6 separate regions of the Homo sapiens genome follow, and all the other regions are linked to region 1. The links are contacts of gene promoters, found by promoter capture Hi-C in blood cells and fetal thymus (Javierre and others, 2016). All regions are on one chromosome and are shown on one strand. The core of a region is centred on a gene start or on the middle of the fragment in contact, and the rest is flanking DNA. Distances in the headings are between cores, read along the strand shown. Region 1 holds the start of SLC22A1 (solute carrier family 22 member 1). Region 2 has its middle 140 kb from the start of SLC22A3. Region 3 overlaps ACAT2 (acetyl-CoA acetyltransferase 2). Region 4 holds the start of PNLDC1 (PARN like ribonuclease domain containing exonuclease 1). Region 5 overlaps SLC22A3 (solute carrier family 22 member 3). Region 6 has its middle 25 kb from the start of PNLDC1.

Evidence for each region. The method cuts DNA at HindIII sites, captures the fragments that hold promoters and counts their contacts. A CHiCAGO score of 5 or more calls a contact.
Region 2: a fragment that was not itself captured here is called in contact with the fragment with the promoter of SLC22A1 in region 1 in 1 of 17 cell types (total CD8 T cells); the score reaches 6.3 in total CD8 T cells.
Region 3: a contact is called between a fragment that was not itself captured here and the fragment with the promoter of SLC22A1 in region 1, in 1 of 17 cell types (neutrophils). The highest score is 5.4, in neutrophils.
Region 4: a contact is called between the fragment with the promoter of PNLDC1 here and the fragment with the promoter of SLC22A1 in region 1, in 3 of 17 cell types (neutrophils, M2 macrophages and total B cells). The highest score is 6.5, in neutrophils.
Region 5: a fragment that was not itself captured here is called in contact with the fragment with the promoter of SLC22A1 in region 1 in 3 of 17 cell types (total CD8 T cells, total CD4 T cells and naive CD8 T cells); the score reaches 5.2 in total CD8 T cells.
Region 6: a fragment that was not itself captured here is called in contact with the fragment with the promoter of SLC22A1 in region 1 in 1 of 17 cell types (neutrophils); the score reaches 5.2 in neutrophils.

Annotation. Positions count from the first base shown.
Region 1 is chr6:160,119,880-160,123,390 of GRCh38, forward strand. It overlaps SLC22A1 (solute carrier family 22 member 1), which reads left to right and starts at 1,936. Exons shown (of 11, transcript NM_003057.3): 1 at 1,936-2,467. The coding sequence starts at 2,057. LOC124901452 (a long non-coding RNA gene) reads right to left here and starts at 1,816. Exons shown (of 2, transcript XR_007059842.1): 1 at 963-1,816. The HindIII fragment of the contact is 2,683 bases long and covers 846-3,511 here.
Region 2 is chr6:160,490,511-160,494,021 of GRCh38, forward strand. It overlaps the pseudogene LPAL2. Among named protein-coding and RNA genes, the nearest start is that of SLC22A3, 140 kb to the left of the region's middle. The HindIII fragment of the contact is 705 bases long and covers 1,230-1,934 here.
Region 3 is chr6:159,769,431-159,772,941 of GRCh38, forward strand. The region is part of intron 4 of ACAT2 (acetyl-CoA acetyltransferase 2); the gene reads left to right. Among named protein-coding and RNA genes, the nearest start is that of SOD2-OT1, 8.9 kb to the left of the region's middle. The HindIII fragment of the contact is 2,503 bases long and covers 678-3,180 here.
Region 4 is chr6:159,798,336-159,801,846 of GRCh38, forward strand. PNLDC1 (PARN like ribonuclease domain containing exonuclease 1) reads left to right here and starts at 1,941. Exons shown (of 19, transcript NM_001271862.2): 1 at 1,941-2,048; 2 at 2,437-2,494; 3 at 2,778-2,851. The coding sequence starts at 1,973. MRPL18 (mitochondrial ribosomal protein L18) reads left to right here. Exons shown (of 4, transcript NM_014161.5): 4 at 1-94. The HindIII fragment of the contact is 10,328 bases long and covers 1-3,511 here.
Region 5 is chr6:160,434,571-160,438,081 of GRCh38, forward strand. It overlaps SLC22A3 (solute carrier family 22 member 3), which reads left to right. Exons shown (of 11, transcript NM_021977.4): 6 at 2,210-2,307; 7 at 2,427-2,641. Among named protein-coding and RNA genes, the nearest start is that of SLC22A3, 88 kb to the left of the region's middle. The HindIII fragment of the contact is 1,235 bases long and covers 1,100-2,334 here.
Region 6 is chr6:159,823,358-159,826,868 of GRCh38, forward strand. No RefSeq gene overlaps it. Among named protein-coding and RNA genes, the nearest start is that of PNLDC1, 25 kb to the left of the region's middle. The HindIII fragment of the contact is 1,375 bases long and covers 969-2,343 here.

The sequences.
Region 1 (3,511 bases), core at 686-3,185:
TTTCGATGCTCCAGGTGTCTTCTGTAGCATCCAAAACTCAGGGGTTAGGAAAGAAAATTTTGAAGCTGTAAAGGCTCAAAACACTTAACAGAATTTTTGGTTACTATAAGTCATTCATTTAAATGACTCAAAGCAAAAACCTTCAGTCACTAAGAGGGAAGACCTAATTTTCCAAACAATCTAACTTTTAACCATCGCACTCCTTTTTAAGAAGTCCTTTTAAGTCTCTTATTATCCAACTTTAGCCATGCCAAATGGCCAGTTGAATTCATGGAGGGGCAGAGAATATAGTGATTTTTTTATTGTTCCTGCAACCAGTTTGCACAGAGAGAGAAACCAAAAGTCTGACTGGTAAGAACTTTTACCCTTTCGCCAGCATGTCAGGCTGCTGAGCTCCCTTCCCCTCAGCTATGGAGCCCTATTGACCCTGGAGTCCTGTTGATCTCTTGTCCTTCCCTTCTTGTGTCAGTAGCTTATTCACAAAGAAAACAAAATCTTTCATTGCATGAAAATCTTGTTCAAGTGAAAGCCAAATTTTACCCTTACATTAGTCTATTAATGTCAACCCCAATTAAAAAAAATAAAACCTTACAGAGAAATCCATCCAATCTTAATCAGTTTGATCATGAACTGAGATTGTTATAAATCTTTTATAACCTTTTACAAATTTTTTTTGTTAAACAGCATGTAAGTGCTTCAAGAAAACCTTGTTGTGCTTGTATTCCATTGTTCAACTTATGGAAAACCAAATAATATCCTTTTTAGTGTAGTCAATATGTTTACACACAGGATTCCTTTTACAAGATTAATTTTTTACAAACCTTCCATAACTTGTTTGAACCTTAAGCTTTATCTTATATAATTTAAAACAATCATTTAACCCTCTGAACTAGGCAAAAATTTACATTCCCATGCCTTCTTATATTATTTTACTAATGATACATTTTACTCTCCTTACTCACCTCACGTGTAGATCTGTTTTCAGTAGTCATCACTACATGTTATAATGGTAGCTCTTAGTAATTGTTAATTTTGGTGAAATACCCAGTAAGTTATTTTAGTTACGTACTTAGGTGCAGATGAGGTCTAACTATTTCCAGCATAGCTAGGGCAGGCCCTACCAAACTGCAAAGCAGGAAAGTTGAACAATTTTCAAAAGCCAAAGCAGTTTATGACCTTAAAGCATTTAGTCAACCTAGTTTCTGACTTGCATAATTTAGACCATGTCTATATTTTGAAGACATTTCTATTTTCATTTTACTGATAATTTAAAAGACAGCCTATTTAGCAAAGTCATACTTAAGTGAATTTGAAAATTGCTTAGACTTATTTACTTAATTTATGAACACTCTTTTACTTATAAGCCAATTTGGTAGACACAACATATAACAGTAAGTGTACATACAAGTAAACACATCTAGACATGTATACACACACACAAATGAAGAGGTGGAGCTTAAAACACCCAAATTGGGTGCAGTGTATACTGCTTGGGAGATGGATGCACCAAAATCTCACAAATCACCACTAAAGAACCTGCTCATGTAACCAAATAATACCTGTTCCCTCAAAACCTATGGGAAAAAAAAACTAAAAAAAATACTTAAATGGTATCACAGAACTAATTAGCCGAATACAGTATCTAGTACCTGGCTGTCACCCAATACTTGCCTCATACCATCACATCTAGAAAACAAGTAGATATTCTTTTTGGAAGAGCCCTGAGGGAGCTACTAGGAGGTTTGCACGGCCTGCTCTCCTGCCCTCTTCTTGCTCTGTGGCTGAACTTCAATTCTCTTCGGGCTTAGACCCCACTGACTCGCTCCCGGGCAAAGCAAACGATTTGATCAGATGGCCACGTGCATTCTTCCTTTTCCTGAAACCAGCACCATAGGGTAAAAGATTATTTCTACTTGGTTGCCTTCCAGATGTTTCACACTTGGACAGCAAACTGATTTCAAACCACTCCTTTTCAAAGATCTCTGAGGGAGACATTGCACCTGGCCACTGCAGCCCAGAGCAGGTCTGGCCACGGCCATGAGCATGCTGAGCCATCATGCCCACCGTGGATGACATTCTGGAGCAGGTTGGGGAGTCTGGCTGGTTCCAGAAGCAAGCCTTCCTCATCTTATGCCTGCTGTCGGCTGCCTTTGCGCCCATCTGTGTGGGCATCGTCTTCCTGGGTTTCACACCTGACCACCACTGCCAGAGTCCTGGGGTGGCTGAGCTGAGCCAGCGCTGTGGCTGGAGCCCTGCGGAGGAGCTGAACTATACAGTGCCAGGCCTGGGGCCCGCGGGCGAGGCCTTCCTTGGCCAGTGCAGGCGCTATGAAGTGGACTGGAACCAGAGCGCCCTCAGCTGTGTAGACCCCCTGGCTAGCCTGGCCACCAACAGGAGCCACCTGCCGCTGGGTCCCTGCCAGGATGGCTGGGTGTATGACACGCCCGGCTCTTCCATCGTCACTGAGGTAAAAAAGCCTCTGTAACATGGGAGTTCCTGGGACAGGGAGAAATATAAAGCAAATCCTATGAAGTTCAGTTCCATATCAGGAAAGAGGTAGGGGGCTATGTTTATTGTGCAGTTCGTGGGTGTCTGGCTGTGTCCCAGGCACGGGGCATTCTCTTCTCTAGTTTAATCCACCACAAACTCTGGGTCTTTGAGGAGGAAGCTGAGGCAGGAGAGAACAGCTAGCACAAGTCGGGGGCCAGGTTGCCAGGTTGCTTGAATGGGAGTTGACTGGGAGACCAGGAGCCTCTCTGCCTGCCCCACTGGCTTCTCCCAGAACTATCAACTTGCTCTGGGTCCCGCTTCCCCACCAATAGTACTGTGGGCCCCCTCCTTCTGCTCAAGAGTGATGACGATTGACCTCAATGATGGTGTTGAGGTGGCCTGGAATTGCCCTGGCTTGGAAGTGAGAATATTTGGTGGAATCCCAGCTGTGCCCCTTATTAGCTGAGCATCACTGGGTAAGTCACTGCCTCTCTAAGCCTCATTTCCTCATCAGTCAACCAGGGATGATGACGGCTGCCTCATAGGGGTGTGAGCTTCAGCTGGGATCTGTGAAAGCACTGAGCAAATCCAAACTGAGTCACACCGTGCAGTCCGATGGGGCCCATGGGATAGGGCGATGGCCTCAAAAGGGCCTTGCTTGAGTAGTTTACTTGGTTATTTGAGCATTTTGCTTTGAGAATCCTTTAGTAAAAAGTGTCACCACATTTTTTTCCCATCATGAGCCCTTTTGAAACTATTGCACGGTAACAAGTGTGGATGCTTGGTGGGTTGGAGAAGCTGTGGGCCAAAGCCCGTCAGGGGCCTTCTGTTAGTAACGAGCAGTGGCGTGGTTTTGGTGCAGGCACTGCTTCCCTGAAATAAGAGGTAACTGGGCCCTCCCTGCCTCTGGTCCTGCCCACTTGTCTGCCCCCACTACCCTCGCCCAAGCTCTCCGGACTTCTTGGGTCTCTGTTCTTCCTCTTTTCCCTTTCCTGAGTGGTATCAGCGGTGACACATTTAG
Region 2 (3,511 bases), core at 332-2,831, 370 kb after region 1:
AAACTCCAATCTCTCCTCCATTCAGCAAGATGGATACAGTCCACATGGGTTCCGTCTCCCTGCTCTTCCGTGCAGGAACGGTCCCAAGAAGAAAGCCAAGGAGGGCATCTGTGGAGTTGATCTCATTGTACTCCTTGTCACAATTCTCTCAGTCCTCTACCATCTGTTGTTTTACGTGTGGAAACCATTTTTCCATGTCCTTTGTAGCCACTTAGAGGAGAGAGACTGGCCATGAGTTGGTCAGACCCAGGCTTCTGTCCATCTGCCCACCCCTTTTATTTTTCAGCATCTGTCTCTTTGCTGTCTCTCATCAGCCTTCCTGCCTTTGCCCTTCTCTTTCTGGCACCTCATATCTGAGACCATTGCTGCTTGGGATCGAGTTTGTTTCTACCTATTGGAATAGACGTAGAAATAGAAAGCTTTGACTCTCCATAGATATGCACATACTCCTTCCTCGTGAGCCAAGACAGAAAGGGCCAACACAACTTTTACTTCAGGAATCAGAGGTTAGAATGATAGAATTCCAAGGTGGAAAGGCTGCATTGACTCTTACTGTGTGTTGTAGAAAACACTCTTAAGTGTTTGGTTATTTGTGGTCCTGACAGTTTTCGTAATGTGATCACCTCGCCTTCAGATAGCCTCCTGATGCATAAAGCTATGAGGAAGGAGAGCCAGATTAACATATCCTATCTCTGAGACCCTTTGCTTCAAGGCAATATTCCTGAGACATTTTGCTATGACCTCTACATCTGAAACAAGTTGAGTCCTGAGCACTTAGCTAGAAGCATGACTCTTCTAACAGAAACTTTAGTCAGCCCTTCCTTCTCTTATGGTAAAGAACAAAACGTATGCATTTGGGTACTGTTCCGGGGTCCTACTGTGCTGGTGTGGTGTCATAGATGACCAAGCTTGGCAGGTTCTTCCTGTGACAGTGGTGAAATATGTGCCTCGATAACTCTGTCCATTTCCATGGTAGCACTCCTGAACAGAAGGCCTTGGCTCTGTCGGTGCTAAAATTAAAACAGGAAAAATTAAGCTGTGTATCTCCTAGAACAGGGAAACAGTTGAAGCCATTTATGACACAAACCAGAAAGAAGTCTTGGAGAATTACGACCATTCTCTTTTTTTTATTTGTACACAGATGAACATGAGAAAACAAACAAACACCAAAAGAACAGATTCCTACCATTCTAGAAATGCAGTAAGTTCTTCCCAATATTTCATGTAAAAGCTTAGAGAAAAACAACAGTTCAGAGTGCTTCTTATGGAAAACTGCGCTCACGTGCAAACTGCTCTCTAGTGATCTCTACTGAATGTTCATGGGGATCACGGGGCATGAGAGAATAAAGGGCTACGCATTTGGCAGTGCAGACTGTAGATGGTGATTGGCTGCTGAGGGCGGAGGTGGGGACAGACATGGAAACCTCGCACGTTTCCCTAGACCATTGATCACGAGAGCCAAGGCCTTCAGCTTCTGGCTTCTGGCAGATTGGGAAGAAAACGGTTGTGCGTCTAGGACTGCAGGCAAAAATAGTTTGCTTCATAAGGATGGGTGGAGGCCAAAATCTTATCCCATTGGAAGAGAGATGGAATTTTCTCATGCCCCACATCCTGCATTGCAATAAAGCAGAAGTCTCCTACTCTTTCTCTCCAGACCCCCCACAAGTACAACTTCCATTAGAAAAAGGTGCAGGAACACTGAGAAATCACTCACTTCAAAGCCTAGGCCTGCAAATCTTGCCCAGGTCTGAGGAAGGCCTGAAAGATAGAGCCTTGGGAGCTCATGTAATGCTCCATGATGCAAGGGCAACATGGAATTAATGCAGCCCTGTTAAGTTTCTCAAGATTCACGGGCTTGAAAGCCACACATTTCTGAGAATCTGTGATGATGAAGATTGCACTGAATGTTGTCTACTTGAAGAAATCCCTGGAGAAGCTTACTGCATTGGAAAGAGACACATATCTGACAGCATGTTACAACAGGAATTTTGGACTGGACACTGAGATAACTCATTTTACAATGAAGTGAGTGGTGATGTCGAGCACCCTGGAGGGTTTGTGCCTATCCAAAGACACAGCCCACTCATGCTGCACCAAAAATTACTCCTCTGGCTCCCCCAGACACTGCACTGAGGATTCCTCCAAAATGGCAGATCCTCAATCAACATTGGAGCACCTGTGTAGAATGAAGCCTTCTGCATCAGTGGGAGTTTCCATGGCTTTTCTTCTTAGTGTCTAAGCGTGGAGATGTCTGGCCACAGACTTCTTACCTTGTATGAATGAATCCTCTAGGCTTGGAACTGGGATAACAGTCAGAGGCACGAACACAGTCCCTTCATCGTCTGAGCACCGTGTCAGGTTGCAGTACTCCCACCTGACATTGGGATCCGTCGTATAACACCAAGGGCCTGCCGAACAATCCGGATTCCTGCAGTAGTTCGAGATCAAGCCACTGAAAATCACAAAACAATACACGTTACAAGAGGTGGGACAATATGCAGGAACATCCAGCACCCTCTCCATTTTGCTGTAACAAGGTCATAACCAGTGCCTTTGAAATATTCCCATTAGAGGTACCATATGATTGCCACAAGCATGAATGGCTCTCAAATTCTCATCCACTCTGCACATTTCTAACAGGTAATAGATTTTAACTTTTTTTTTTAAGACCTAAAGTAGGAAATACCTCTTAGAAACACTGAAATAATACATACATGTGGCCTAGAAGGGATGAGAATATCCTCCTTCCATCTTTAGCCAATCCATCTCTCTGGAATACATGGTATAGATTTTGACGTGTGTATTGTGGAATCACTTATACACATACAAGAGTACCTTCATCTGTCTAGCTCTCTTTATCTGTCTCTACAGGACTTCATACAGTACTGCGAAAGGTGGAACTAACATAGAGTTCCTCAATGAAATAATGGCATCCAGGATGATATCAATCCCAGGCCAGCCTTCTAACTCTATGTACTCAAAATGTAGTGAAAAGCCTCTATGTTACCCATGGAAAACCATCGTGCAAACAGTATTGCTGTCTCTCGATGCTGTATCAGGTGAGTGAAAAGGTTTGTTTCTTCAAGACTTATAAAAGCTGCCCTAGAAAACTAGTTCCCAGACATGATGCAGTACCTCTAGGATGCATCCCTGGACAGGACCTCATCTCCTGCTCTCAGTCCATCCTCTACTGATGGCAGCCACTCTAAGGGTGACTGAGGGAATGGGGAATGAGTTGAAAGAACAGTATGACCCAAGGCATAATGGGAGATGGCTGAATAGACTATGAGATCTGAAAAGGTCTGGCAGCTACAGAGTCATTGGCAAACAATGGCGTAAGAGGCAAAGCAACCAAGAATCTCGCGCTGGGTGTATCTTGGAGCATTCATTCGCCTTTTGTTATGACTCCCAGGAACATTGCTCCAACCTCTCAGAATTCTCAGATTCACGACGTGAGGCTGTCTGTAAAGACAAGAAATGTATTATGGGCCATGGGGATCCAACTACTCTC
Region 3 (3,511 bases), core at 679-3,178, 350 kb before region 1:
TTTCCAAGGTGTACTGTGGATTGAATGGTACTCTTCCAGCCTCCAGAACTGTAAGAAAATAAATTGCTCTTCTTTAGAAAAAAAGAAAAGAAAAAAGGCTCAGGTCATGATGGAGTAATTGACAAAGATTAGATTTCCTACTATAAACAAGCATAAAACTTGTGAAAATATATAAAGCCACTGTTTTATGTATGTCAGGTTTTGACTAATACTCATGTAAGACTGAGATCCTTGAGAGAAGGGAAAACCCCACTGTCACTGTCTCTACCCAGGGCACTTCCCAAACTGTGTTATGGAGAGGCAGAGCCTAAGCTGGAAACAGTGGTCTCAGTGATCTGAAGAAGCAGAGAATTTGGGGCTTCTGAGATGGCTGGAGTTTGTGGGGCAGAATAAGGGGGAGAAGAAAAAAAGAGCTCCAGAAATCTGCAAAAGGTTCCCCTTAAGTCTTTGATCAAATACTAAGCTTGTAGATAACAGCTTACAAGGCCTAGTAGAAAAGAGCTGCAAAGGAGAGGTGAACTGGAGATTTTATAGATTACTAGGAGATAAAAGTTCTGGACAAGCGAGTGGAAACCTTACTGAACTCCTTGGACACTCCATTGACATCTCAGAAAGACCACAGTTTAGGGGTAGGGCCAAAGCCATAGAGTAAAAGCTACTCTAGACCCAAACTAATAAGCTTAAAAACAAGCCTCAAAAGGATCAAGGTGATTTGCCAGTATTTTGACTGCTTGTGGAAACAAAACTCAATATATTCTCTAAAGATAATAAAATCTCTATGTCCAGTTATGTAGCAACTATAATGTTCAGCATGCAATGAGAACTTTCTAGATACACAAAGAATTAGGAAAATATAGCTTACAACCAGGGTGGAAAAAAACCACAACAGTCAACAGACCCTGCAATACTAGAATTATCAGATGAGGATCTTAAAGGCTCTATTTTACATATGTTTAAAGATACAAAGGAAAATATAATCTTCATAGAGGAATAGATGTGGACATCTCAGGAGTAAAAGGAAAAAATATAAACAAGAACCAAATAGAAATTCTAGAACTTGCAAAGTACACAATCTGAAATTAAGAATTCACTGGGATGGGGCCGGGCATGGTGGCTCGCACCTGTAATCCCAGCACCTTGGGAGGCTGAGGTGGGAGGATCACTTGAGGCTGGGGGTTTGAGACTAGGCTGAGCAACATAGTTAGACCTCATCTCTAAAAAAAAAGAAAAAAAAATTCTGAATGGCCTTAACAGCATCTTGGAGACAGAAGAAAAAGGGTCAGGAAGTTTGAAGATAGATCATATACACGACCTGAAGAACACAGAGAAAAATAATGAAGAATAAATGAACAGGCCAGGCACGGTAGCTCACGCTTGTAATCCCAGCACTTTGGGAGGCCAAGCCGGGTAGATCATCTGAGGTCAGGAGTTCAAGACCAGCCTGGCCAACATGGGGAAACCCTGTCTCTACTAAAAATACAAAAATGAGCTGGATGTGGTGGCCCATGCCTGTAATCCCAACTACTTGGGAGGCTGAGGCAGAAGAATAGCTTGAACCCAGGAGGTGGAGGTTGCAGCAAGCTGAGATCACACCATTGCGCTCCAGCCTGGGTAACAAACAAAACTCTGTCTCAAAAAATTAAATTAAATTAAATTAAATTAAAAAATAGGCCAGGTGTGGTGGCTCATGCCTGTAATCCCAGCACTTTGGGAGGTCAATGCAGGCAGATCACCTGAGGTCGGGAGTTTGAGACCCACATGACCAACATGGAGAAACTCCATCTCTACTAAAAATACAAAATTAGCCAGGCTGGTGGCGCATGCCTGTAATCCCAGCTACTCGGGAGGCTGAGGCAGGAGAATCGCTTGAACCTGGGAGGCGGAGGTTGCGTTGAGCTGAGATCACGCCATTGCACTCCAGCCTGAGCAACAAGAATGAAACTCCGTCTCAAAAAAATAAAATATAAATGAACAGAGCCTTGGTGGTCTGCAGGACAAAATAAATAGGACTAGCATGCATGGAATAGGAATCTCATACATAAGGAAGAGAGAGAATGGGGCAGAAAAAAACTGAAGAAAATTTCCACATTTGGTGTGAAAAGAAGTTCAAAGACCAAGATAGACAAGGGAAAAATTACACCTTAGCAAATTGTAGCAAAAAGTTAAAAAAAGATCATGCCACTGCACTCCAGTCTGGGCAACAGAGTGAGACTCTGTCTCAAAAAAAAAAAAAACAAGAGTGAAAGTGAAGAGCCATTTTTAGATGAAGGAAAATGAATTGCCTGCACACCTACACTACAAGAAATACTAAAGGAGCCAGGCATGGTGGTATGTGCCTGTAGTCCCACCTACTCAAGAGCTGAGGCAAGAGATTGCTTGAGTCCAAGAGTTTGAGTCTAGCCTGGGCAATGCTATCATAGTCTACTATGATTGCACCTGTGAGTATCTACTGCATTCCAGTCTGGTTAACATAGTGACACAACAACAACAACAACAACAAAAGAATAGCTTCCAGCCGGGCGCGGTGGCTCACGCCTGTAATCCTAGCACTTTGGGAGGCCGAGGCGGGCGGATCATGAGGTCAGGAGATTGAGACCATCCTGGCTAACACGGTGAAACCCCATCTCTACTAAAACTACAAAAAATTAGCCAGGTGTTGCAGCAGGTGCCTGTAGTCCCAGCTACTCTGGAGGCCAAGGGAGGAGACTTGCTTGAACCTAAGAGGCGGAGGTTGCAGTAAGCTGAGATATTGCACCATTGCACTCCAGCCTGGGCAACAAGAATGAAACTCCATCTCTAAATAAATAAATAAATAGTGTAAATAAATACTGTATAAAATGCAAAGCACTCAGAATAGCCAAAACAATTTTGAAGTCAGAAAATAGCACTTACATGCTCTGATTTTAACATTACCTATAAAGCTGTTGTAAACAAGACAATGTGGTTTTGGCATAAGGACAGAGAAAGAGAACAGAGTTCAGAAATAGACCCAGACTTATGCTTGTTTTCAACAAAGGCATCAATGGAATGAAATGGAGAAATTAAAGTCTTTTCAACAAATGGTGCTGGAATAACAGATTACTCACATGGGAAAGATGAACCTAGATCCCTACCTCACACCCTATATAAAAGCTAATTTGAGATAAATCGTGGATTTAAAAATAAAAGCAAAAAATGTAAAGCTTCTAGAAGTATATATAAGAGAATAGCTTTTACAGGGTGCAGTGGCAGGTGCCTATAGTCCCAGCTACTAGGGAGGCTGTGGTGGGAGGATCACTTGAGGCCAGCAGTTTGAGGTTGTATAGTATACTATGGTTGATTTTGCCTGTTAGTAGCTGCTGCACTCCAGCCTGGTCAACATAGTGAGACATCATCCAACAAAAAAAAAAAAAAAGAAAGAAAAACAGCTTGATAAGTAAAGACAAGACATAGAAAGCAAAGCAATAACTTTTTTGTGTGTGTGTGTGGAGACGGGTCTCACTCTGGCACCCAGATTGGAGTGCAGTGGCTC
Region 4 (3,511 bases), core at 691-3,190, 320 kb before region 1:
CTAAGAAAAGCAGTCATCAATTATAATTAACTTTCAAAGGGCAAGTCAGAAGTTGTTTATAAATTACAAAATAAAGGCATATTATGAACTCTTATTTTCTGGTTATATGACATTGTCTGAGCTCACTGTGGCAGTGGAGCACATATGAGGTTGATGTAAAGCACTTATTACTGTGTCTAGTTCATGGCGAGTGATCTCAGTGAATGACAGTTGTTTGCTGCTCGGAGTGTGGGTTGTTTTTTAAAATAGGAAATGTCAGTATCAATCTAATACTATAGAACAGTCAGTATGTGAAAATGAAAGGACCAAATGCCAACCTCACTTGGACTCTTGGTTCCCAACAGTAAGAGAAACAAATTTGAAAGAGGAAGGAGGTGGCATCAGGAGCTGAAAGCAGAGGTGGAAATGGTTGGGGTTAGTGGGCGCTCAATTTGCCATGAAGTGAACATTTTATTAGATAGGAGATGAAACTTGAAATGCATGCAAGTTAATCTAAAATTTGAGCTTGGGTAGATGGGAATCATGGCAGTTCTCTGAAAGGAGCTGATTAAGGTGTTAATTTTTGGCTATTTGATAAATGTGAGAAAAAACCTGTAGGCAGTTAAGGTGGCTTCTAGAGCATTGTTTTCCAGTTTTTTTAATGTATACCCCAATTAAATGTTTGTTTAGAAGTGAAATATGTTACTTCTGCCAATTTGAGTATTCAATGTGTTATTTTAAATGGAACACATCTGTATGAAGTATGATTTGTTCTGAGAGGTCTTCAGAATCAAATGGCTTAATAGTCCCCTTTTGCTTAATTAATGTCCCGGAGAGGCATTTAAAAGTATAATTGAAGATCGGATGCAGTGCCTCACACCTCTAATCCCACCACTTTAGGAGGCTGAAGCAGGTGGATCACTTGAGGCCAGGAATTCGAGACCAGCCTGGCCAATACGGTTTAACCCTATCTCTACTAAAAACAAAAATGAGTTGGGCGTGGTGGTGCATGCCTGTAATCCCAGCTGTTCAGAGGCTGAGGCGGGAGAATCGCTTGAACTCAGGAGGTGGAGATTGCAGAGAGCCGAGATGGCACCACTGCACTCCAGCCTGGGTGACAGAGTGAGACTGTCTCAAAAGGAAAAAATAAAGTATAACGGTAATGTTTTCTCCGCTAACCTTAAAGATTGATTTGAGCACCTCACTTTGAGGACCATAGTTCCAAAACGCTGTTCAAGTAGAAGCCTAGAATTCAAGGGAGGACACTGTAAGGAAGACCATGGACTAGTTGCACTGGAAACAGTAACAAAAGTAAAAATTAAGCTCACATGTATGTGATGATGTAGGTAGGGATTTCCGCAAGGAGTGAGTGCACGAGATAATCCCTGGGGACCAAGGATTCCTTCAATTTAATGGGCAGTTCTTGAGGCTTTGCAAAGTTTGATTGCAGGTGTGAAGACAGTGGTAAGGTGGACAGCAGAATGAGGAAAAAGATGTCCAGGGGCGTGGGAGAGGGAATGGGGACAGACATACTGGCAGTGATGGAGAAGTTGGGAAGAGGTGATTTAGAAGACCGTGAGCCGCAGCAAAGGATCTGCTTATTGCAGTTGCGTCCGGTGTTGTTCCTGCTCCGCTTTTCTGATTTCACCCTTTCTGGACTCTGTCTTCGTCTCCTGCCACGCCTCTTAACATTCTAAGTCCATGTAAATGACATTCTCACGTTAAGGGCTGCAAAGAAATTGCTGAGGAGCCAGGTAAACAGGCTTTGATTGCAATTGCAATCAAACCTCTGTAGCAAATCGTACAATTAAAACACCCGCAGGCAGGTGTGGGCGACGCCAGCAGCACACGGGGAAGCTGGGCACGTGGGGCGGAGGCAGCTGCCTGGTTTCCATGTGTGCGCCCTTTAAGACCCGGCGGCGCGACGGAAGCGCGTGGGCAGCACGTGGGCAGCACGTGATAGCGCTGGGCGACTCCGCGGAGCTGCACGGCCATGGACGTGGGCGCCGACGAGTTCGAGGAGAGCCTCCCTCTGCTGCAGGAGCTCGTCCAGGAGGCCGACTTCGTGGGTGAAGAGCCTGGGATTCGCGGCTGTGCCGGACAGAGCCCCTTGCCCCGGGCGAGCTTGAGGAGGGGGTGGCGGGACGGTTGCCAGGCCACAGGGCCTCAGAGAGGGCCTCGGGAAGGACAGGGGGGCTTCCTTCTCCAGCCCCGGGGCGGTGGGACTTTGAGCAGCAAGTACACTCCGAGCCCCACGTCCCTTGTTGGCCAGAGCCCCGTGCGCCCAGGTGCCTGGCTGCTCCTTGCCTTGGTTCCTCCATTTTCCCTTCCTGACCTCACTTGGCTTCTTGAGCGCAGAGGTGAGCGCGGGTGCCTTGGCCGCCTGCAGATCTACAGTGTGAGGAGTGCTGGCGATGTTCTGCACCCGAGGACTGCTATTTTTTGCCTTCCTGGCAGGTCTGGACATAGAGTTCACGGGCCTTCGTTCTAACCTGTCTGGGCCCCAGCAGATCAGGTAAAACTAAAGCTGTGTCCCCTCTGTATAAGAGCCTGGCCAGACCAGCACTGTTTCTGGCCAGCAGCCTGTTGGCATTTGGGGGGCAGGACGTTTTGTGTGGCTTGCTCCTACGTGTTGGAGGACCTTGCTTTTTTCTGTCCACTAAATGATGGTAGTGCTCCCTAGTTGTTGTAACAAGGAAAAAATCCTCCCCGGTTGCGAGTGGTGGTCCTGCCGCGGAGGCCATAGTGCCGGGATGGGATGTCATTGCTCGTGGAATGAGATGCCTGTTTGTTCACAGTCTTTTTGATTTGCCATCGGAGTGGTATCTAAAGACCCGTCAGAGTGTTCAGCAATTTACAGTCTGTCAGATTGGTGAGTTTAATATCAGCTGTTAGAGTTTTTCAAGAAGGTATTTTTATTGTCCTTGGATTTCCTACTGTAAAAACAGCTCTGAGATTTTTCAAGGATATTGAGTATCGTTTTGTATGCTTGTTTTGTGTTGGGCCATTGTATACATATGGAAATCAACACTTCGGAGCAAACCAAATTTAGCAGCATTGTTTCCGTGCTTAAATAAGTCAGTATTAAGGAACACTCACTGTTACTCTTTCAAGTAAAACTGTGTGTGTGCGATTTTTATTTTATTTTTTGAGACAGGGTCTTGCTCTGTCACCAAGACTGGAGTGCAGTAGCATAGTCTTAGCTCACTGCAGCCTAGACTTCCTGGGCTCAAGTGATACTAGCACGTCAGCCTCCTGAGTAAACTGGGACTACAGGCTCACCACCACACCTAGCTAATTTTTAAATTTTTTGTTCAGATGGGTTTTCGTCATGTTGGCCAGGCTGTTCTTGACTTCCTGGGCTCGAGCAATCTTTCTGCCTCTGCCTCTCAAAGTGATGGAATTATAAGCGTGAGCAACCACACCTGGCCTGTGATTTTTTTTTCTTAAGAAAATTTACACACAAAAATAATTTTTTTTAAGGTCATCTCAGTTTCAGAAACTTTTTTTTTTTCCTTGATGGGATTTGGAG
Region 5 (3,511 bases), core at 467-2,966, 310 kb after region 1:
CCATAAACACTAGCCATTTTAATGTATTAACACATAGAAATGAATTGTAGAAAACATTTTGGCAACAAACTATACCATAATATATATTTGTAATCTATGGAGTTCCTATCTTTCACTTTTGATATTCCTGTCTTGTTTTTTGAGCAGCAAAGGTTAAGGTAGACACAGAAAAATCCCTCACTGGGGTCTTCAAATTTAGAAGGTTAGCTCAGGGGTCATCTTAATAGACATTATATTAGTTAAGATCCAGGTCAACTTGCTAATGAAACAAGGCCCCAAAAATACAGTGATGAAAAAGATAAAAGTGTCTTTCTCTCTAGCACACGCACACAGAGGTGAGCAGCCAAGCTCTAGTGAGGCAGCTCTACTCCATGAGTTCCATTTATCTTGCATCTCCACCATCGCCTACACAGGTGGTATGGTTGAAGCTCACCAGCATCTTCTTCCAGCAAGTTATTACCTTTTTAAATGCAGAGACCTAGAACTTATACACATGACCCCTACAACCACCTCATTGCTGAGGTCTTAATCACAGTGCCACTCACAGTTGAAAAAGAGGATAGAAAAAATGACTGTCACTAGGCTGCCATATGCCCAACTAAAATTCTACGTATTCTCAAAAGAGGGAAGGGAAGCATGGATGGTGGAATCCATCAGCAGTCTTCCACGGCGATTGTCATGGAAACTATTGTTTTGTTGACTCTAGACACTATTGATTTTAAGACACATAGTCATTTTATGTACCACTAAGTAAAGGAAACCATGTTGTTTAAACTGGGACACATTTCTTTCTTACCAGCTCAGTTGTAGGACACCTTCCAATTAAGAGATGTTAAAATGTAGAAAACCAATGTGTCTTGGTATAGAAGAAATACAGGATTGTGAAGACTTTGGAAAAGAAAGTGACCAAAGGCATTCATTTTGCAGTCTACTTTTGTGTGTGTGTGACTTTCCTTGGAGCAAAGATAGGCATAAGATATCAAGCTTTGGTTGATCTATTGAATTTACTGTTTAGAATCTGTGATTGACAAGGTACTATCAGTGTGTGTATGCTCTAAGTCAAATTCCTGTGATTACTGGTAGAGAGACTTTAGCTCAAAGCTTTGGGGAAAATGTGCCTAGATTTTCATTCAATCTGGGCCAAATCTGGAGTTGTACAAATAGATAGCATCGGTCTTGTCCTTAGTAGCCAGCATTTTTGTTTAATAGGAGGAGAGAAACCCAGGACGACACTGAGGAACAGATATGACCAGGGCACTTGACTTCTTGTTTCAGCACTCAGTCATTACACAAACAGTTGTTGAACACCAGGCACTTTGCTTGGTGTGACAATGCACTCCCGCCTTCCAAGAGCTCCAGACCCACAGGGGAGTGCTGTTGTACAGGTGCTAGGATAGAGGTCCGGGGAGTAGAGGCAGAATTTGGGAGCCATCAGTTCTATCTGAGGCTAGGAAAGGCTTCCCAGGGGAGGTAAAATCAGGACTGAGGAGGTCAAAGAGCCCTCCATGCAGAGGTAAGAGACTGACAAGCACAGGAAACTGGAGCTGCGGTCACTGCAGGGTATCATGCTCTGATGCTTCCGCATGTTAGACTGGAGGCAGGATGTGGGGATTGGGGGGTGTCCTCTCCAGCTTCGCTTTTTTCAGTGTTTTGTATGTAGTTGGCCAATAGCAGTATTTGTTGAATTGAATTGAAAAGACCAGTTTCTTGGATGGCCAGCTAGAGATGAGCTGAATTTTTCTGGATCAAAAAGATGTTAGATTACAATAAATGGGCAAAAGCAAAATAATACCTTTGGTGCTTACTCTTAAACTTAACATTACTCTATTTTGTTTGTGAAAGTCAGATTTGAGGATTTAGTTTATAAAGAAACCCTTAATTGGTTGGATCCCACTTGCTTCACCCACCCTGACTCTCATTTCCCCCAATGTAATAAATGTGCATATGTATTTAGAACATACAGAGCAGTTTAACATAAAGTACTGAAATTATCCTAAGAACAGATTCTCAGTGCAGCAATCCTATCTTTGTGAATTTGATGTGTTCTAAATGCAAGAGCAGAAGTGTTTTAATTGTCAGGTTTTAAGATATTATGAAAGCCCCTAGTCACTTCAGTAAGATCATTTGATTCTGGTTAATGACAAGTCTATACTATGCAGGTTTTTTTTTTTTCTGTCTATTGCTACTGAAATCTGCTTTTCTTATATAGATCACTGTTACAGATGAGGAAGTTAGTAATCCATCCTTTTTAGATCTGGTGAGAACTCCCCAAATGAGGAAATGCACACTTATTCTTATGTTTGCTTGGTAAGTTTGACTTGTGATGGATTTAAAAGCTTGCGTTAAATTTACAATACATCCCTTCCTTCAAATCAGCTTGAAGTTATCTCTTACTTGTTCTCTGGTGTCTTTCAATGTTGCTACAGGTTCACAAGCGCAGTGGTGTATCAAGGACTTGTCATGCGCCTGGGAATTATAGGGGGCAACCTCTATATAGACTTTTTCATCTCGGGCGTGGTGGAACTGCCAGGAGCTCTCTTGATCTTACTAACCATTGAGCGCCTTGGACGACGCCTCCCCTTTGCGGCAAGCAATATAGTGGCAGGGGTGGCATGCCTTGTCACTGCGTTCTTACCAGAAGGTAATCTTACCCCACATCTGTTTGGCAGCCAAAGGACTTGAAAACACCTAAATCCACAATCAAGTATAGGGAGCCACTTGTTCTTAGGAAATGTGCAATGGAATCACAGTCTTTCGTGATGTCACTCCATTTTCTGCTTAATCAGCATAAAAACTTCGAAGTAAGAGATTGGTTCTGTAGATGATTCTCTTTTCTCAATTGCTAGGATCATTTATGAATGAAATAGATATTGTGCCCAATCTAGCTGATAGCGATGTGGTTTCTGTTACTCATCTTTATGTGACTTACTTTTGTGATATCTCTGATGTTTAACTTATTTCCTGAACCTCTGCCATGCTGCTGGCACCATGCTAAACGCTGAGGTTACACATAGAAGAACGCAGTCTTGACTTCGAATGGTTCACAATCTATTAAGGGATACAGATACTTTAATATTGTCACGATTCTTATTGTCATGAATTATTTGTGAGATTTAGAAACTAATTAAACTATTTACAAGATTTAGAAATATAAAAAAATAGATTGGGGAGGAGTGATCAATCCAGAAGGGGATTCAAGAAAAGCTTCCCAGCAGTGGGAACTAAACATGCGTGAAGACTCAAATGTGCCAGATATCAGGGAGAGAGAGGACGGACGTTTCCAAACTAGAGAAGAGTTTCCAGAAGTATGAAACACCTTTGTGCATGCAGGAACTGAGGGTTCATTGCTGTGACTGGAATCCAGACAAGGAGCCTGAGAGATGATCTGTCACCAGCATGACCAGCCCTGCAGGTGGTCCTGTGAGCTTGCGGAGGAGGAGGAGTGAGTTTGGCATAACTGCAGCAGTTTAGAGATGGCTATGAGCAGGGGGAGATGCTGAGAGCAGGAGTT
Region 6 (3,511 bases), core at 406-2,905, 300 kb before region 1:
AGTGGACATCTCCTCTAGGTTCTAGGTCACTGTTGCCTGCTGTACCTGTCAGGTGTCGGGGGCTCAACCTGTCTGAGTGCCTCTTGCCTGTCCCTGCTAGAGCACTTGGTGCTGTGTGGCAGTGTCCCCTGGCCTGGCCCTGCACAGGTGGGCAGTGGAGTTCTGGAACCTGCAGGGGCCCTCAGTATCCTCACAAGCCAGTGCTCCCCATGGCTGGAGGCTCTGCTGTGTTTTTCGACAGGGATTTGAGTTTGTTGCTGCTGCTCAGGTGAGGTGCTTTGAAAATGGCCTTGAGTAACTGATGTGCTTCTGCAGCAGAGGGAAAAGACAAATGGCAGCCTCCGAATCTGCCCAGCCCAGGGTGTTCTCACTGACCCACACGACCTGATCACTTAGAAGTGATGTGATTTCATGTCCTTGTTCTTACAATTTTGGTTCTTGTTTGTGGTTTAAATTATTTCTGTGAGATTTTTGGTATGAGAAAGAAAGTGACTAGAAATAGCCTTAAATGATCTTAAAATTAGCTAATCTTTCTCTTTACATCCTTCAGGTACTAAGTTCAGGCTGCCGTAACAAAAATACCATAGACAGGGTGGCTTAAAAAACAGAATCTTATTTCTCACAGTTCTGGAGGCTGGGAACTCTGAGAGCTGGCGCCAGCTGAACTGGCTCCTGGAGAGTGCTCTCTTCCTGGGCTTGTGGAGGGCTGCCTTCTTGCTGCATCCTGGCGTGGCAGAGACAGCGAACATCTCTCTCACTTCTCTTCTTGTAAGGGCACTAATCCAATAAGAGGGCCCCACCCTCATCACCTCATCACCTCCCAAAAGGCCTCACCTAAGACCATCCCCTTAGGGGTTAGGATTTCAACCTGGGAATTTGGGGGAAACACAAACATTCAGTCCATAGCAAGTATCTTTCCTTTTCTCTGAAAGATACAGAGGTTCATATCATTTATTGTTACTACAGAAAGCTTTTCTCTTTCTCTGTGGTCTTTTTAGCTCATGAGACAGCAATACTAATTTTCTTGGCATGAAGTATGTGGTAGAGGTTGTAAATTTTGAGATACTTTCTAAGGGGAAAAAAAGGCTGTTACTTTCTAACCACTAAAATCCTTTGTGTAATTTTCTATAAGTTTGTCTGAAAATCCACTGTAAGACTAATTAAAACCTCATTTTTTTGTATGGTGGTGACTTGCCAAATTAAAAATTATCTGGGGCCAGGCATGGTGGCTCACGTTTGTAATCCCAGCACTCTGGTAGGCTGAGGTGGGCGGATCACATGAGGTCAGGAGTTCGAGACCAGCCTGGGCAACATGTTGAGCCCCTATCTCCACCAAAAAATACAAAAATTAGCTGGAAGCAAGGTGGAGTGGCTCACATCTGTAATCCCAGCACTTTGGGAGGCCGAGGTGGGTGGATCACCTGCAGTCAGGAGTTCGAGACCAGCCTGGCCAACATGGTAAAACCCTGTCTCTACAAAAATACAAAAAATTAGCCAGGCATGGTGGCGGGCACCTGTAATCCCAGCTACTTGAGGGGGCTGAGGCAGGAGAATCACGTGATGAACCCAAGAGGCAGAGGTTGCAATGAGCCGAGATCGCACCATTGCACTCCAGCCTGGGCAACAACAGAGAAACTCCATCTCAAAAATAAATAAATAAATATAAAAATAAAAATTAGCCAGGCGCGGGCATGCCTGTGCTCCCAACTACTCAGGAGGCTGAGGCCGGAGAATCGCTTGAACCCGGGAGGCAAAGGTTGCAGTGAGCCGAGATCGTGCCACTGCATTCCAGCCTGGGCAAGAGAGTGAGACTCTATCTCAAAAAAAAAAAAAAATTATTTGGGAAAATATAACAATCAGGAAACTTCTGAAAAAGATAAGTGACCAAGATGACTTGTCCCACCTGCCGTATGGGAGTACATTGATCCAAGCTGTGCATTTTCTACCATTTTCACATCGTTGAGATTGGGTTATTTCTTACAGTCAATGGTGTGTGTTAATTTAATTGGTGTTTTCTTAATGTGCACAAAATTGGTGCCTTTGTAATTGCATGTTGATGAGACTATGGCGTAAAGTTATAATTAATACATTGTGAGATTGGCATAGTAATAGAATCTAGGTAAGAAATAGACTGAGTGCATCTGGGAATTTTGCTGTGATAAAGGTACCATATTAAATCTGGGACAAAGAGCCGTTTAGAAAAAAAAAGCCAATTCTTTAGTCCTTACACCAAAATAAATTAGACATGTCATATATTTAAGGTTAAGAAAGGCAAATCATATAAAAGGAAATGAAAACGATTTAATCTTGGGATGAAGAAGGGCTTTCTAAGCATGAAACAAAAGCTTCAAGTGGTAATTAAATAGTTGATTGATTTGGTGCAACCATGTCTCATGTTGTCTGAGACATCCTTCACTGGAGAGTGACCACTGTTTTGTGTTCCACTAAGGGATAAATGCTGCCGGGGAGGTTTTTGTCCCTCATCCTAAGATACACCCTGATCTCAAAGATGTTGAAATGGAGGGAAAGTGCGTCTTGGAATGGGTGAAATACAGAAAAATACGCTTACTTACAACCAAAAATCTAAAAACCACCCAAAACTACTTGAACATGGGAAGCAAGCATTGTCACGGTGGGTTAGTTGCAGGACAGTTTTGGCAAAACTGGGGTGGCCTTGCTGCTGCCACTGCAACTGCTACTCTAGTTTTTGGCGGTTTACCCTGAGGGGGTTACGAGGATGCTGCTGGTGGTGGTGGACGAGAGGCAGGAGCCGGCGCTGGGGCCGGGTGGTCTGCAGACTCTCGTCCTCTCCTGCGCCTCCTCACGTCGGTTAGAGCCATCGGCCCTCCTCTGTCCCCTGGTACTTTCAAGTGCTTATCATAATGTAGAGAGGTAGATTTGTGTCCCTAACTCCCCAGTGTGCCTTCCCTACAATGCAGCTTCTCTCCAGAGCGGGGTGCCTCCTGCTCATGTGGGCTGGCAGCACCACTGAGGGCCTGGGGCTGGCCCAGTCCCTGCCCACTGTCTAGTGGGGCGACAGTACACAAGCAATGGCTGTAAAGGTCAGCATGTCCTGGCTAGGGAGGGGCTGGGGCGTCCCCGCCAAGGGCACCTAATCCAGAACAATTCCTAAGGATGAGCGACAGGGAGGATGTTTTTGTCATGAGCACAGGAAAACCACTGTGTTAGTCTGTTCTCCCACTGCTATAAAGAAATACCCAAGACTGGGTAATTTGTAGGAAAAGAGGTTTGATTGGCTCACAGTTCTGCAGGCTGTACAGGAAGTGTGGTGCTAGCATCTGCTTCTGGGGAGGCCTCAGGAAGCTTTTACTCATGACGGAAGGTGAAGCAGGAACAGGCTTCAGATAGTGGATGCAGGAGAAAGAGAGGGGGCGGAAGGGGAAAGTGCCACACACTTCTAAACAACCAGATCTCGGGTGAACTCAGAGCCAGAGCTCACTCATCACCCAAGGGATGGCCCAGGCTGTTCATGAGAACTCTGGCCCCGTGA